Linked DNA regions of Homo sapiens: all the other regions are linked to region 1. Evidence: promoter capture Hi-C in human tissues and cell types (Jung and others, 2019). All regions are on one chromosome and are shown on one strand. The core of a region is centred on a gene start or on the middle of the fragment in contact, and the rest is flanking DNA. Distances in the headings are between cores, read along the strand shown. Region 1 holds the start of PTHLH (parathyroid hormone like hormone). Region 2 overlaps CCDC91 (coiled-coil domain containing 91). Region 3 overlaps LOC105369710 (a long non-coding RNA gene).

The links. The method cuts DNA at HindIII sites, captures the fragments that hold promoters and counts their contacts. A contact is called where the count stands out against the background at its distance.
Region 2: a fragment that was not itself captured here is called in contact with the fragment with the promoter of PTHLH in region 1 in 1 of the 25 tissues and cell types used here (bladder).
Region 3: a contact is called between a fragment that was not itself captured here and the fragment with the promoter of PTHLH in region 1, in 2 of the 25 tissues and cell types used here (IMR-90 fibroblasts and adrenal gland).

Annotation. Positions count from the first base shown.
Region 1 is chr12:27,971,194-27,974,447 of GRCh38, forward strand. It overlaps PTHLH (parathyroid hormone like hormone), which reads right to left and starts at 1,540. Exons shown (of 6, transcript NM_198965.2): 1 at 1,330-1,540; 2 at 734-826. The HindIII fragment of the contact is 6,422 bases long and covers 1-3,254 here.
Region 2 is chr12:28,194,470-28,197,723 of GRCh38, forward strand. The region is part of intron 1 of CCDC91 (coiled-coil domain containing 91); the gene reads left to right. Among named protein-coding and RNA genes, the nearest start is that of CCDC91, 5.6 kb to the left of the region's middle. The HindIII fragment of the contact is 6,310 bases long and covers 1-3,254 here.
Region 3 is chr12:28,106,922-28,110,175 of GRCh38, forward strand. LOC105369710 (a long non-coding RNA gene) reads right to left here. Exons shown (of 3, transcript XR_931461.3): 2 at 185-237. Among named protein-coding and RNA genes, the nearest start is that of CCDC91, 82 kb to the right of the region's middle. The HindIII fragment of the contact is 5,405 bases long and covers 1-3,254 here.

The DNA of each region.
Region 1 (3,254 bases), core at 290-2,789:
TCCGAGTCGCTGCAGCCAGCGGACAGATGCAGTGGAACTATGGTTATGTGCTGCTCTGCCTGGGAGAAGCGACGGGAAAGCCGAGGTTCTTTCCAAAGCTAATGGGCGGGGAAGAAAGACTGCTCGGAATTACTGGGTAGTATCATCTAGGAAAGGATTGCAGCGGGAGTGGATACCCTCCCCAGGGCTCCTCTAACTTTTTGAAAAGAGCGCGAGTGGACTGGGAACCATTCAAGGGATATTTGTCTTCTAGGCAATCCTGCTGGTAGGGTTCATTAGTTTCTAGAAGGCTAGTGTGATTTAGATTCTTGAGATGATTCAAGGAATGTGGCCTTTATCAAGCCCGACTTTCCGGGTGATGCTCCACATATTTTACCCAGGGTGGGAGAAATAGCACGCTGTCACCGAGACCCTCGCTCATCGGGGCTCCCACTGGTTCACTGCAGCTAGCTAGCAGTTAAAGTTTACTGCTTAGGTTGGGTGGGGGGGCATATTTTCTTAGAAGCTCCTGCCTTCCTCAGTTCATTACTGTAAACCCCGTACCTTAAAAGACTCGGCTTCTTCTCACTAACAAAGAAAAAAAGCAAAACAAAACCAAAACACACACACGCACACACACACACTCTCTCTCTGGGAATTTCCACAACTTCCCTTGAATGTGTAAGGATTTCTAAATGTTAGACTTGTTTGGATAGTATGAAAGGACAAAGTATCAGCACTCAGAAATGTCAACCTTTGAACCTCGAACACTTTCTGATTTATAAAAAGAATCCTTCCAAAAAGATGCAGGAGCCCTAATGTAATCGTTAGATCTGAAGGGGGAAATCTGTAAAAAAAAAAAAAAAAAAAAAAAAAAAGTCAATCACAAATGAGCCATTTAATACTTGCAAGTTGTTTAACATTGAAATGATAATATTTGCTTCCACAATAAAAAGTCCAAGGTACCTAGCCAAGTTTCAAACTATCCAGGCTTTAAAAAGTCAACCCTTCTCCCAATAGAAGGTTAAAACAAAAATCAGATTGAAATTATCAAATCACTTATGTTGTAAATAAATTCACTTTACTTTCAGAACATTATAAATTAAGGACTGGCATCAATAGACTGCTTTGATTTATGTTGCTTTTTCTACTAATTAAACAAAATTAACCCCCCACTCCTTCCCTCCTTTCTTTTTCCCCACACACTTTTCTGGTGTTAATGGCAAAACATCTATCAAATATTTTTAGAATTTCCTCTCCTCCACAAAAAGAGAAAATATAGACACAGGAAAAATAAATAGTCTTTATATACTCGGAATACCAAAGTTCCCTCCTAATTTATTACTTCACCTTTTCCTTGATTTACAATCTTCTCTCTGCTCTTCTGGCTGAAAGAGGGAAATCTTCTCAGCAGTCTTTTCCAGAAATATTTTTTGTTGTTCTTCAGAAAACATAAAATTAAATCTTAAAATGAATTAAAAGCTTCTTGAAAGGAGACTTCTGTTCCCACTAAAGGCAATTATTAGAAAGCAGGTACCTCTTCCAAGCTGCCCTGTTTATTACTTTCCGTAGAAATTCTCCTCAATATATACCCAGGACCCTGACTTTTTGCCTGTTTTGGAAAGGATATTTTCTGACATCATAATCTAGTTCCTAACATAACTGAGTAATCTCCATCATAATAATGCAGAGGATGCATGACTGCAAATGAGACACAGCAAGAGCACCCCCTACCACCTCCCTCCCCCCCCCGTCCCCCCAGCCCACACACACACCTTTTTTCTAAGGTTTAGAAATAGAACAAGTGCCAATAGAAGCTAAATGTTTGCTTAGGCCTTGCTGTCATGTAAATGCACCTTAGCAAATGGGAAGGCCTGCCTCTAATCTGAAGTATTTCCATGTTTAGCATTATAAGATCTACACCTACACAAATGCCTAGCCCATGAGCACCAGGCTTCCATCTTCCCATCCCCAGTGGCAGTTTATTACAGTATATCAAATTTTAAAAGAGGTTGAAAAAATTTTAAATGCATTACTCTTAAATTCAGTTGAATACCCAGTTAATGTATATCTCCTGTCATAGCTTAGAAAAAAGTAAATAGCATTTATGCTTAGCCTCTTCATCCTTCTTTCTTCTTTCCTCCTTAACCCAAACAGCAAACAGATATACATTATAAACCAAATATGAATCTATAGCACTTTAAACAGTGCACCTGGGCTTGGGAATTCTCTTATTACCAATAAGCATCCAGATTTCACATTTACCAATCTGTAGCTGCAAGCTATGTCTCTAAAATCCCCTGGAACCAAACAACTAAACTCATCCCATCTCTTCTCCAAACTTTTTTCAATGTTTACAAAGAGACGTTGCATAATCAGCTCAAGTAATGCTCTCATTGGATTCCATTAGAATGTGGCTCTCATCGCTCGCCTGGACTGAGACTTGAGAGGAGGCTGTTGCCAGCTGACCTCAAGGTAGCAAAAAAGAAAAAAAGATGTAATGCCTTCAAACCCCAAGTAACAATAGGAAAGGGTGTGTTTCTTTATTAAATCTTTTTGTAGTTAGGTGAGGATAAGACTTCTCCAGGAACAGGGCGGGCTGCTAACCTCTGGAGGAACTGCCTCAGGGAGGAGTGTATAGATATGCATCAAGCTGATGGGATCCTCCCATGGGAAAAGTGGGCCTCACACCCTTCCTCACCCTTCCCTACTTCCTGGGCAATGTTCTGCTTCCCCCAAACTGAAGCAGGAGGCCCAGAGAGGAGGCGGTTTCCTGGGAGGAACCCAAACCAATGTGAGATGAGAAGGTCTTTAGGAAATGGGGGTCTCTGAGAACCGGTTCTTAAAGGTCAAGCACTTGAGCACCTCGCAAACTCCTGACAATTGAAACATATCTGAAGAGTCTTCTTCAGATATGTCTCTGTGTGTGTGTGTGTGTGTGTGTGTGTGTGTGTGTGAGAGAGAGAGAGAGAGAGAGAGAGAGAGAATATGAATGTGCAGTGTCCCAGTCCTGATCTCCTGGACTGGTGCCAGCCAGCCAGATGCCTGCCCTTGGCTGGCCAAGTTTTTGGCTCCTGAAAGTAGGCAGCTCTGGACTTGTACGAGGCCACAGAGAGAGTTCCAAGCCCCACCTGGCTCAGGCGACAACCTCTCAACCTGAAGTCAATCTCCGGTGGCATCACAGGGCCCTCCTGGCAGCAGCCCAGTTCCCCACATGAACCGAATGGTCCTTTCTTAAATTTTGAGCCGGGGGCTGCCTAAAAGGGGCTGCCCCC
Region 2 (3,254 bases), core at 567-3,066, 220 kb after region 1:
GAGTTTCTTCCTTCTGGTGGGTCCATGGTCTTGCCGACTTCAGGAGCAAAGCCACAGACCTTTGCAGTGAGTGATACAGCTCTTAAAGGTGGCGCATCCGAAATTGTTCATTCCTCCTGGTGGGTTTGTGGCCTTGCTGGCTTCAGGAGTGAAGCTGCATCCGAAATTGTTCATTCCTCCTGGTGGGTTTGTGGCCTTGCTGGCTTCAGGAGTGAAGCTGCAGACCTTTGCGGTGAGTGTTACAGCTCATAGAGGTGGCGTGTCCTGAGTTGTTTGTTCCTCCCAGTGGGTTTGTGGTCTCGCTGGCCTCAGGAGTGAAGCTGTAGACCTTTGTGGTGGGTGTTGCAGCTCATTGTTATAGCTCGTAAAGGTGGCGTGTCCGGAGTTGTTCGTTCTTCCTGGTGGGTTCGTGGTCTCGCTGGCTTCAGGAGTGAAGCTGCATACCTTCACTGTGAGTGTTACAGCTCATAAAGATAGTGCGGACCCAAAGAGTGAGCAGCAGCAAGATTTATTGCGAACAGTGAAAGAACAAAGCTTCCACAGCATGGAAGGGGACCCGAAGGGGTTGCTGCTGCTGGCTCGGGTGGCCTGCTTTTATTCCCTTATTTGGCCCCACTCACATCCTGCAGATTGGTCCATTTACAGAGAGCTGATTGGTCCATTTTACAGAGTGCTGATTGGTCCGTTTTACAGAGTGCTGATTGGTCCGTTTTGCCAGAGTGTTGATTGGTGCATTTACAAACCTTTAGCTAGACACAGAGCGCTGATTGGTGCATTTACAATCCTTTAGCTACACAGAAAAGTTCTCCAAGTCCCCTACCCGATTAGCTAGACACAGAGTGCTGATTGGTGCGTTTACAAACTGTTAGCTAGACACAGACTCTGATTGGTGCATTTACAATCCTTTAGCTAGATAGAAAAGTTCTCCAAGTCCCCACCTGACCCGGAAGTCCAGCCGGCTTCACCTCTCATTACTATCTTTTCTTCATTAAATTTCTTTGGCTTGCCTTGTTAAAAATCAGTTGAGTATGTTTGTGTGGTTTGCTTTGTGGACTCTATTTTGTTCCATTGTTCTGTGCGTCTGTTTGGCTAAAACCTCAGTCCTTATTATGGTAGCGTTATAGTGTATCTTGAAGTCAAAAAGCCTGAGTCCTCCAACTTTGTTGTTGTTTGCCAAAAATTTTTGAGTATTCGAGTTCTTTTTCTTTCCATGTACATTTTAGAATCTCTTTATTTCTATATAAAAGCATTGTGGAATTTTTAGTATGATTGCATTGAAGTTATGGATCCATTTGGGGAGAATTGACATCTTAAAAATGTTGTTTTCTAATCCATTAATAAAATACCTTTCCTGTCCCACTGCTATGGCTCATGCTTGTAATCCCAGCACTTTGGGAGGTCAAGGTGGGAGGATCGCTTGAGCCCAGGAGTTCAAGAGCAGCTTGGACAACATGGCAAAACCGCATCTCTACAAAAATGAGAAAAATTAGCTGGGTGTGTTGCCATGCACCTGTAGTCCCTGATACTTGGAAGGCTGAGGTGGGAGGATTGATTGAGCCTGGGAGGTAGAGGCTGCAGTGAGTTGTGATCATGCCACTGCACTCTAGCCTCTGCAACAGAGAGAGCCTCTTTCAAGAGAGAAAACAAAATGAAACAACCTTTCTACGTTTATTTGGTCTTTGATTTCTCTCTGTTTTTAAGCTTTCCGCATAAAAATGTTGCGCATATTTTGTTATGTTTGTATCTAAATGTTTTATGTTGTTTGGTTCTGTTGTAAACAGTAACCTTTAAAAATTTTTAAATTTCCAATTACTTATGTAAGTGAATCAGTATTTTAATATTGATCTTGAATTTTTGAATTTTACAACCTTGTTAAACTCACGAGTTCGTTCTAGTAGCTTTTGTAGCTACTGCTGTCTGCTGGTAGAGACAGCTTTATTTCACATTTTCTCATTTGTTTGCCTTTTATTTTGTTTTCTTGTCTCTTTGCACTGGCTAGGACCTTTGCTAATGTTAACTAGAACAAGTCAGATCAGCACAGATATCCTTGCATTGCTCTTCATCTTAGTAGAGAAGGTATACAGTCTTTTACCATTGAGTAGTTAGCTGTAAGTTTTTTGTGGATATCATTTTGACCCAGCCAAGGAAGTTCTCTTTAACTCCTGCTTAGAGCTTTAAAATTTAATCACAAGTGAATGTTATATTGCTTTTTTTGATTGTGAACATGATAGTTGATTACAGTAGAAAGTTGGAAATAAAGGAAGACTATAAAAAAAGTTACCCTATTTTCAGTAATCTGAGGTAACTGCTGCAAACATTGTGGTGGCTTTTCTTTCAGTCTTTTCTTTTGCAAATATATTTTAAAAACAAAATTGTTAATATTGTTTTATATTTTGCCCTTTTCACTCAGAATCACATTGGGAGTACTTGCATCATGAATTATTTTGAAAACTTGATTTGTAATGGTTATGGGTTATTGTGTTATATGGATATGCCCATCATTTAATGATTTTCTTATTGTTAAATAGTAAAATTGTATTTCAGTTTTCCCTGTTGAAATTAACATTAAATATTTGTGCTTAACTCTGATAATTTTTCAAAGTAATTTATAAAAATATGATTATCACTCAAAGTATATACATTTTTTTTTCAGGTTCTTATATCCACTGCCTCTGTTTGGTGCTCTTGAAATTTGTTCTTTAGGCTATTTATTGTAAGAAATTTGGGGTCAGTATCATTGGCTTTTTGGGCATCACCTTAAGGTAGAATCTTTGAATTTCAGAAACAGAGTTCCTTAGAAATCGGTCTAGTTCAAACCGTTTTTTAAGCGGTTTAGAGTCTGTAATCATTAAATAACTTTTCTGCCTATACTATTTTGTTTCCACTGATCTATACAGAATTACTGATGAATTACGTATAATGTAATATACCACCTGTGCTCTTCTTTTGATAAGAATTATAGAAATCTTTGTGCCTAGCTTCATGTAAAACCCTTTATGTATGTTGTTTTATTGAATTCCAACTGCTACTTTTTGGTAGTAACATTTTTTTCCATTTCATAGACAAAGGAAACTGTCTCCAAGTGAGCAAACTTACCTAAGGTTGTATTAATAGTAAGTGGTAGAGCTTGAGTTTGTTCACAAGTCTTCCTGAATCTGTGCTTTTATTTGTAGGCTATACTATGAGTATTATGTTATTTTAGGTATTTTGTATATATTATGTTTATTTTGAATATATTAATTTTAATGCTAACA
Region 3 (3,254 bases), core at 212-2,711, 140 kb after region 1:
AGAAGAATTTTTCTTTTATGCGTCTAATAACTTGGATTTACTTATAAGATTTCTATTAAGAAAAGATTCAACAACTGCCATGAATTTGAAAGCCATTTGCTTAGGAAATGCTTTGCCATATAATCCTTAAGTAATTACCGTATAGCTTCCTTATTCTAACCTTTGCCTCCAACTAAATTCTTACCTCTTCAAGGCAGGCATTGTGTCATAATCAACTCTCCAGCTGGAGCAATGAGTCTGAAACAAGTACACAATAAAATTATTAAAATAATTGTATAATTGTATTTATATACACTGAAAATAAGCCAACCATTTTTAATACGGTTTCTAGGGATATTAGTTAGATTTAGACTGATTAAGAGTGGCCTGAAAAGAATAAGGAAATCACAATTGTAAAATAGATAATTCTCAAGGAACAATGATTTTAAAATGCTTTAGTGAACGCTGGAGAAAGGACACCCTATTCAATAAATAGTGCTGGGAAAATTGGATAGCCATATGTAGAAGAATGAAACTAGAGTCTTATCTCTCTCACCACATACAAAAAATTAACTTAAGAAGGATTAAAGACTTAAATGTAAGACTGGAAACTGTAAAAATTCTAGAAGAAAATCTAGTAAAAACTTGTGGACACTGGACTAGACAAAAAAATGTATGATGAAGACCCCAAAGCAATAGCAACAAAAAAAAAATAGACAAATGGGACCTAGTTAAACAAAAAAGTTACTGCACAGCAAAGGAAATAATCAACAGACTAAACAACCTACAGAATTGGAAAAAATATATTCAAACTATACATCTGACAAAGAACTAATAACACAAGGAACTCAACTCCACAAGAAAAAACACAAACAACCCCCGTTAAAAACTGGGCAAAGGACATGAACAGACATTTCTTGAAAGAGGAAATACAAGCAGCCAACAAACACATGAAAAAATGCTCAACATCACTAATCATCAGAGAAATGCAAATTAAAACCACAATGAGATATCATCTTCCACCAGTCAGAAAGGCTATTATTAAAAAGTCAAAAAGCAACAGATGTTGGCCTGGATGCAGAGAAAAAAGAACACTTATACACTGTTAGTGGGAATATAAATTAGTTAAATCTCTATGGAAAACAGTGATTTCTCAACGAACTAAAAATAGAACTATCATTGCACCTAGCAATCCCACGGTTGGGTATCTACCCAAAGGAAAATGAATCACATGTAAAACAGACACCTGCACTCATGTTCATCACAGCACTGTCCACAAGAGCAAAGTTATGGAATCAACTTAAGTATCCATCAATGGTTGACTGGATAAAGAAAATGTGGTACCTAATACACCATGAAATACTACTCAGCAATAAAAAATAATGAAATCATATCCTTTGCAGCAACAAGAATGGAGCTAGAGGCCGTTATCCTAAGTGAACACAGAAACAGAAAACCAAATACTGCATATTTTCACTTGTAATTGTGAACTAAACAGTGAGTACACATGGACATAATGATGGAAATAATAGACACTGGGGACTCTGAAAGAGAGGAGGATGGGAGGTGGCCAAGGATTGAAAAACTACCTATTGGGTACAATGTTCACTATTTGGGTGATGGGTGCACTACAAGCCCAATCCCCACCAGTATGCAATATACCCATGTAACAAACGTGTGTGTACTCCTTGAATCTAAAAGAAAATAAAATTTAAAAAATAAAAAGCTTTAATGAATGCCTGGAATGGCTCCATGGCACTGTCTTAAAGTGGCATTTCATGTTCTGAAGCAGTTGATGACTCTAACGGCAGTGATATATTGTCTCTGTGGGTGAGGGTGAAAAAATAGTTTTGGGATGTGTATTTATCTGTACATGTGCAGTCTGAGTGCAAATGTGTTGTTATCAGACTCTTTTGTGGTATTCCTGTGACCTGGGCCAAGTTACTATGTACAAAAACAAACCACATTGGTTTCCAGTTGCCCTCAAAAATCAGAGAAGGGTAAGAGAGAATTGGTGCAGCTGTGGCAACAACCTTATTACAACCTTTTTGTGAGAGAATAAGGGTATCTAATGAAAAAATACCTGGGAAGTTTGAGTACAAAATAATTAGAAGCTATGAATATCTGGGTATGGGATTTTTCATTTAGTAGGAAATGTGTAGTTGGAAACTTTCCGTGTGTGCATTTGTTGATTAGTTATTTTTTCTTCAAAATCTGGGTATAAATTTAAATCTCTCATTTTTACTAGTTTAACTAGAATTATTGAGTTCTAGCTTTAATGTTACCTTGGGCCAATATGCTTTAATCATCTGGGGACCTAGCATTCAATCCTTTCCAGCACAGATTACTTGATGGAGAATATCTAAGTGTTCTTGGGAAGCATTAATCACACCCCCATGGCCTCCCATGAAAAATTTGCTAGAAGCCCAAACCAATATTTAGACTATTGACATTAATTCTGTCCCTCTCCCTTTCTAAGGTGGTGTAGTGTAACTTTTAAGATCAAGTTTTTATACAAGCAAAAACATTTTCAGATTTCCAATAATTTTATCTTTCATTTTATGCCAAAGATATAAATTTACATCCAGCATTTGCTACAATCACATGGCCCTCCACAGCTATGCAAGCAAGCAGCCAGCAGAAACAGGAAGTTTAATAAAACCCTATACTTCTATAAAATGTAGTGTGATGTGTCGTGAACTTGGACCTCCCCCTACAAAACTGATAAACATTTTCTTTTTAAAAGTTGCCTATTATCCTAAGTATATTTAATTCCTTAAGTGACTAAGGGAAAAGACACTTCCAATAGTTGCATTCTTTAGTATGAAAATATATGTGGTATTTTTTCATCATTAGCTGATGTGCTATTTCAAAATAATACCTCTTTATATCAGCTTACCAATTTCAAATACAGCATAACTTCTATATAATGATCTTTATAGTAATGTGTATATATTGGAATGAATTGACATTTCATCTGCACATTATACATTATCATGTTTTTGCTTGTCATAGAGAAAAAATCTTTTCACAATTTTCATTGTGACATTTTATTGAACATATAAATATAAAATTTTCTTACCTATAGTTCTATATTAAGAAGTGATAATTTAGAAAACTAATATGATCCTGAAATATGTGCTAGAGGTTGTAGGCAAGGCTGTAAGCTGCTCTTTATGTTTTGTAAAGACTGTGCCCTTACTTCTAAAATTTAATTGAGCAGGATTGAAAATAAGTTGTTGATAGTCATAAAGAAATAAATATAACTAAAGAGT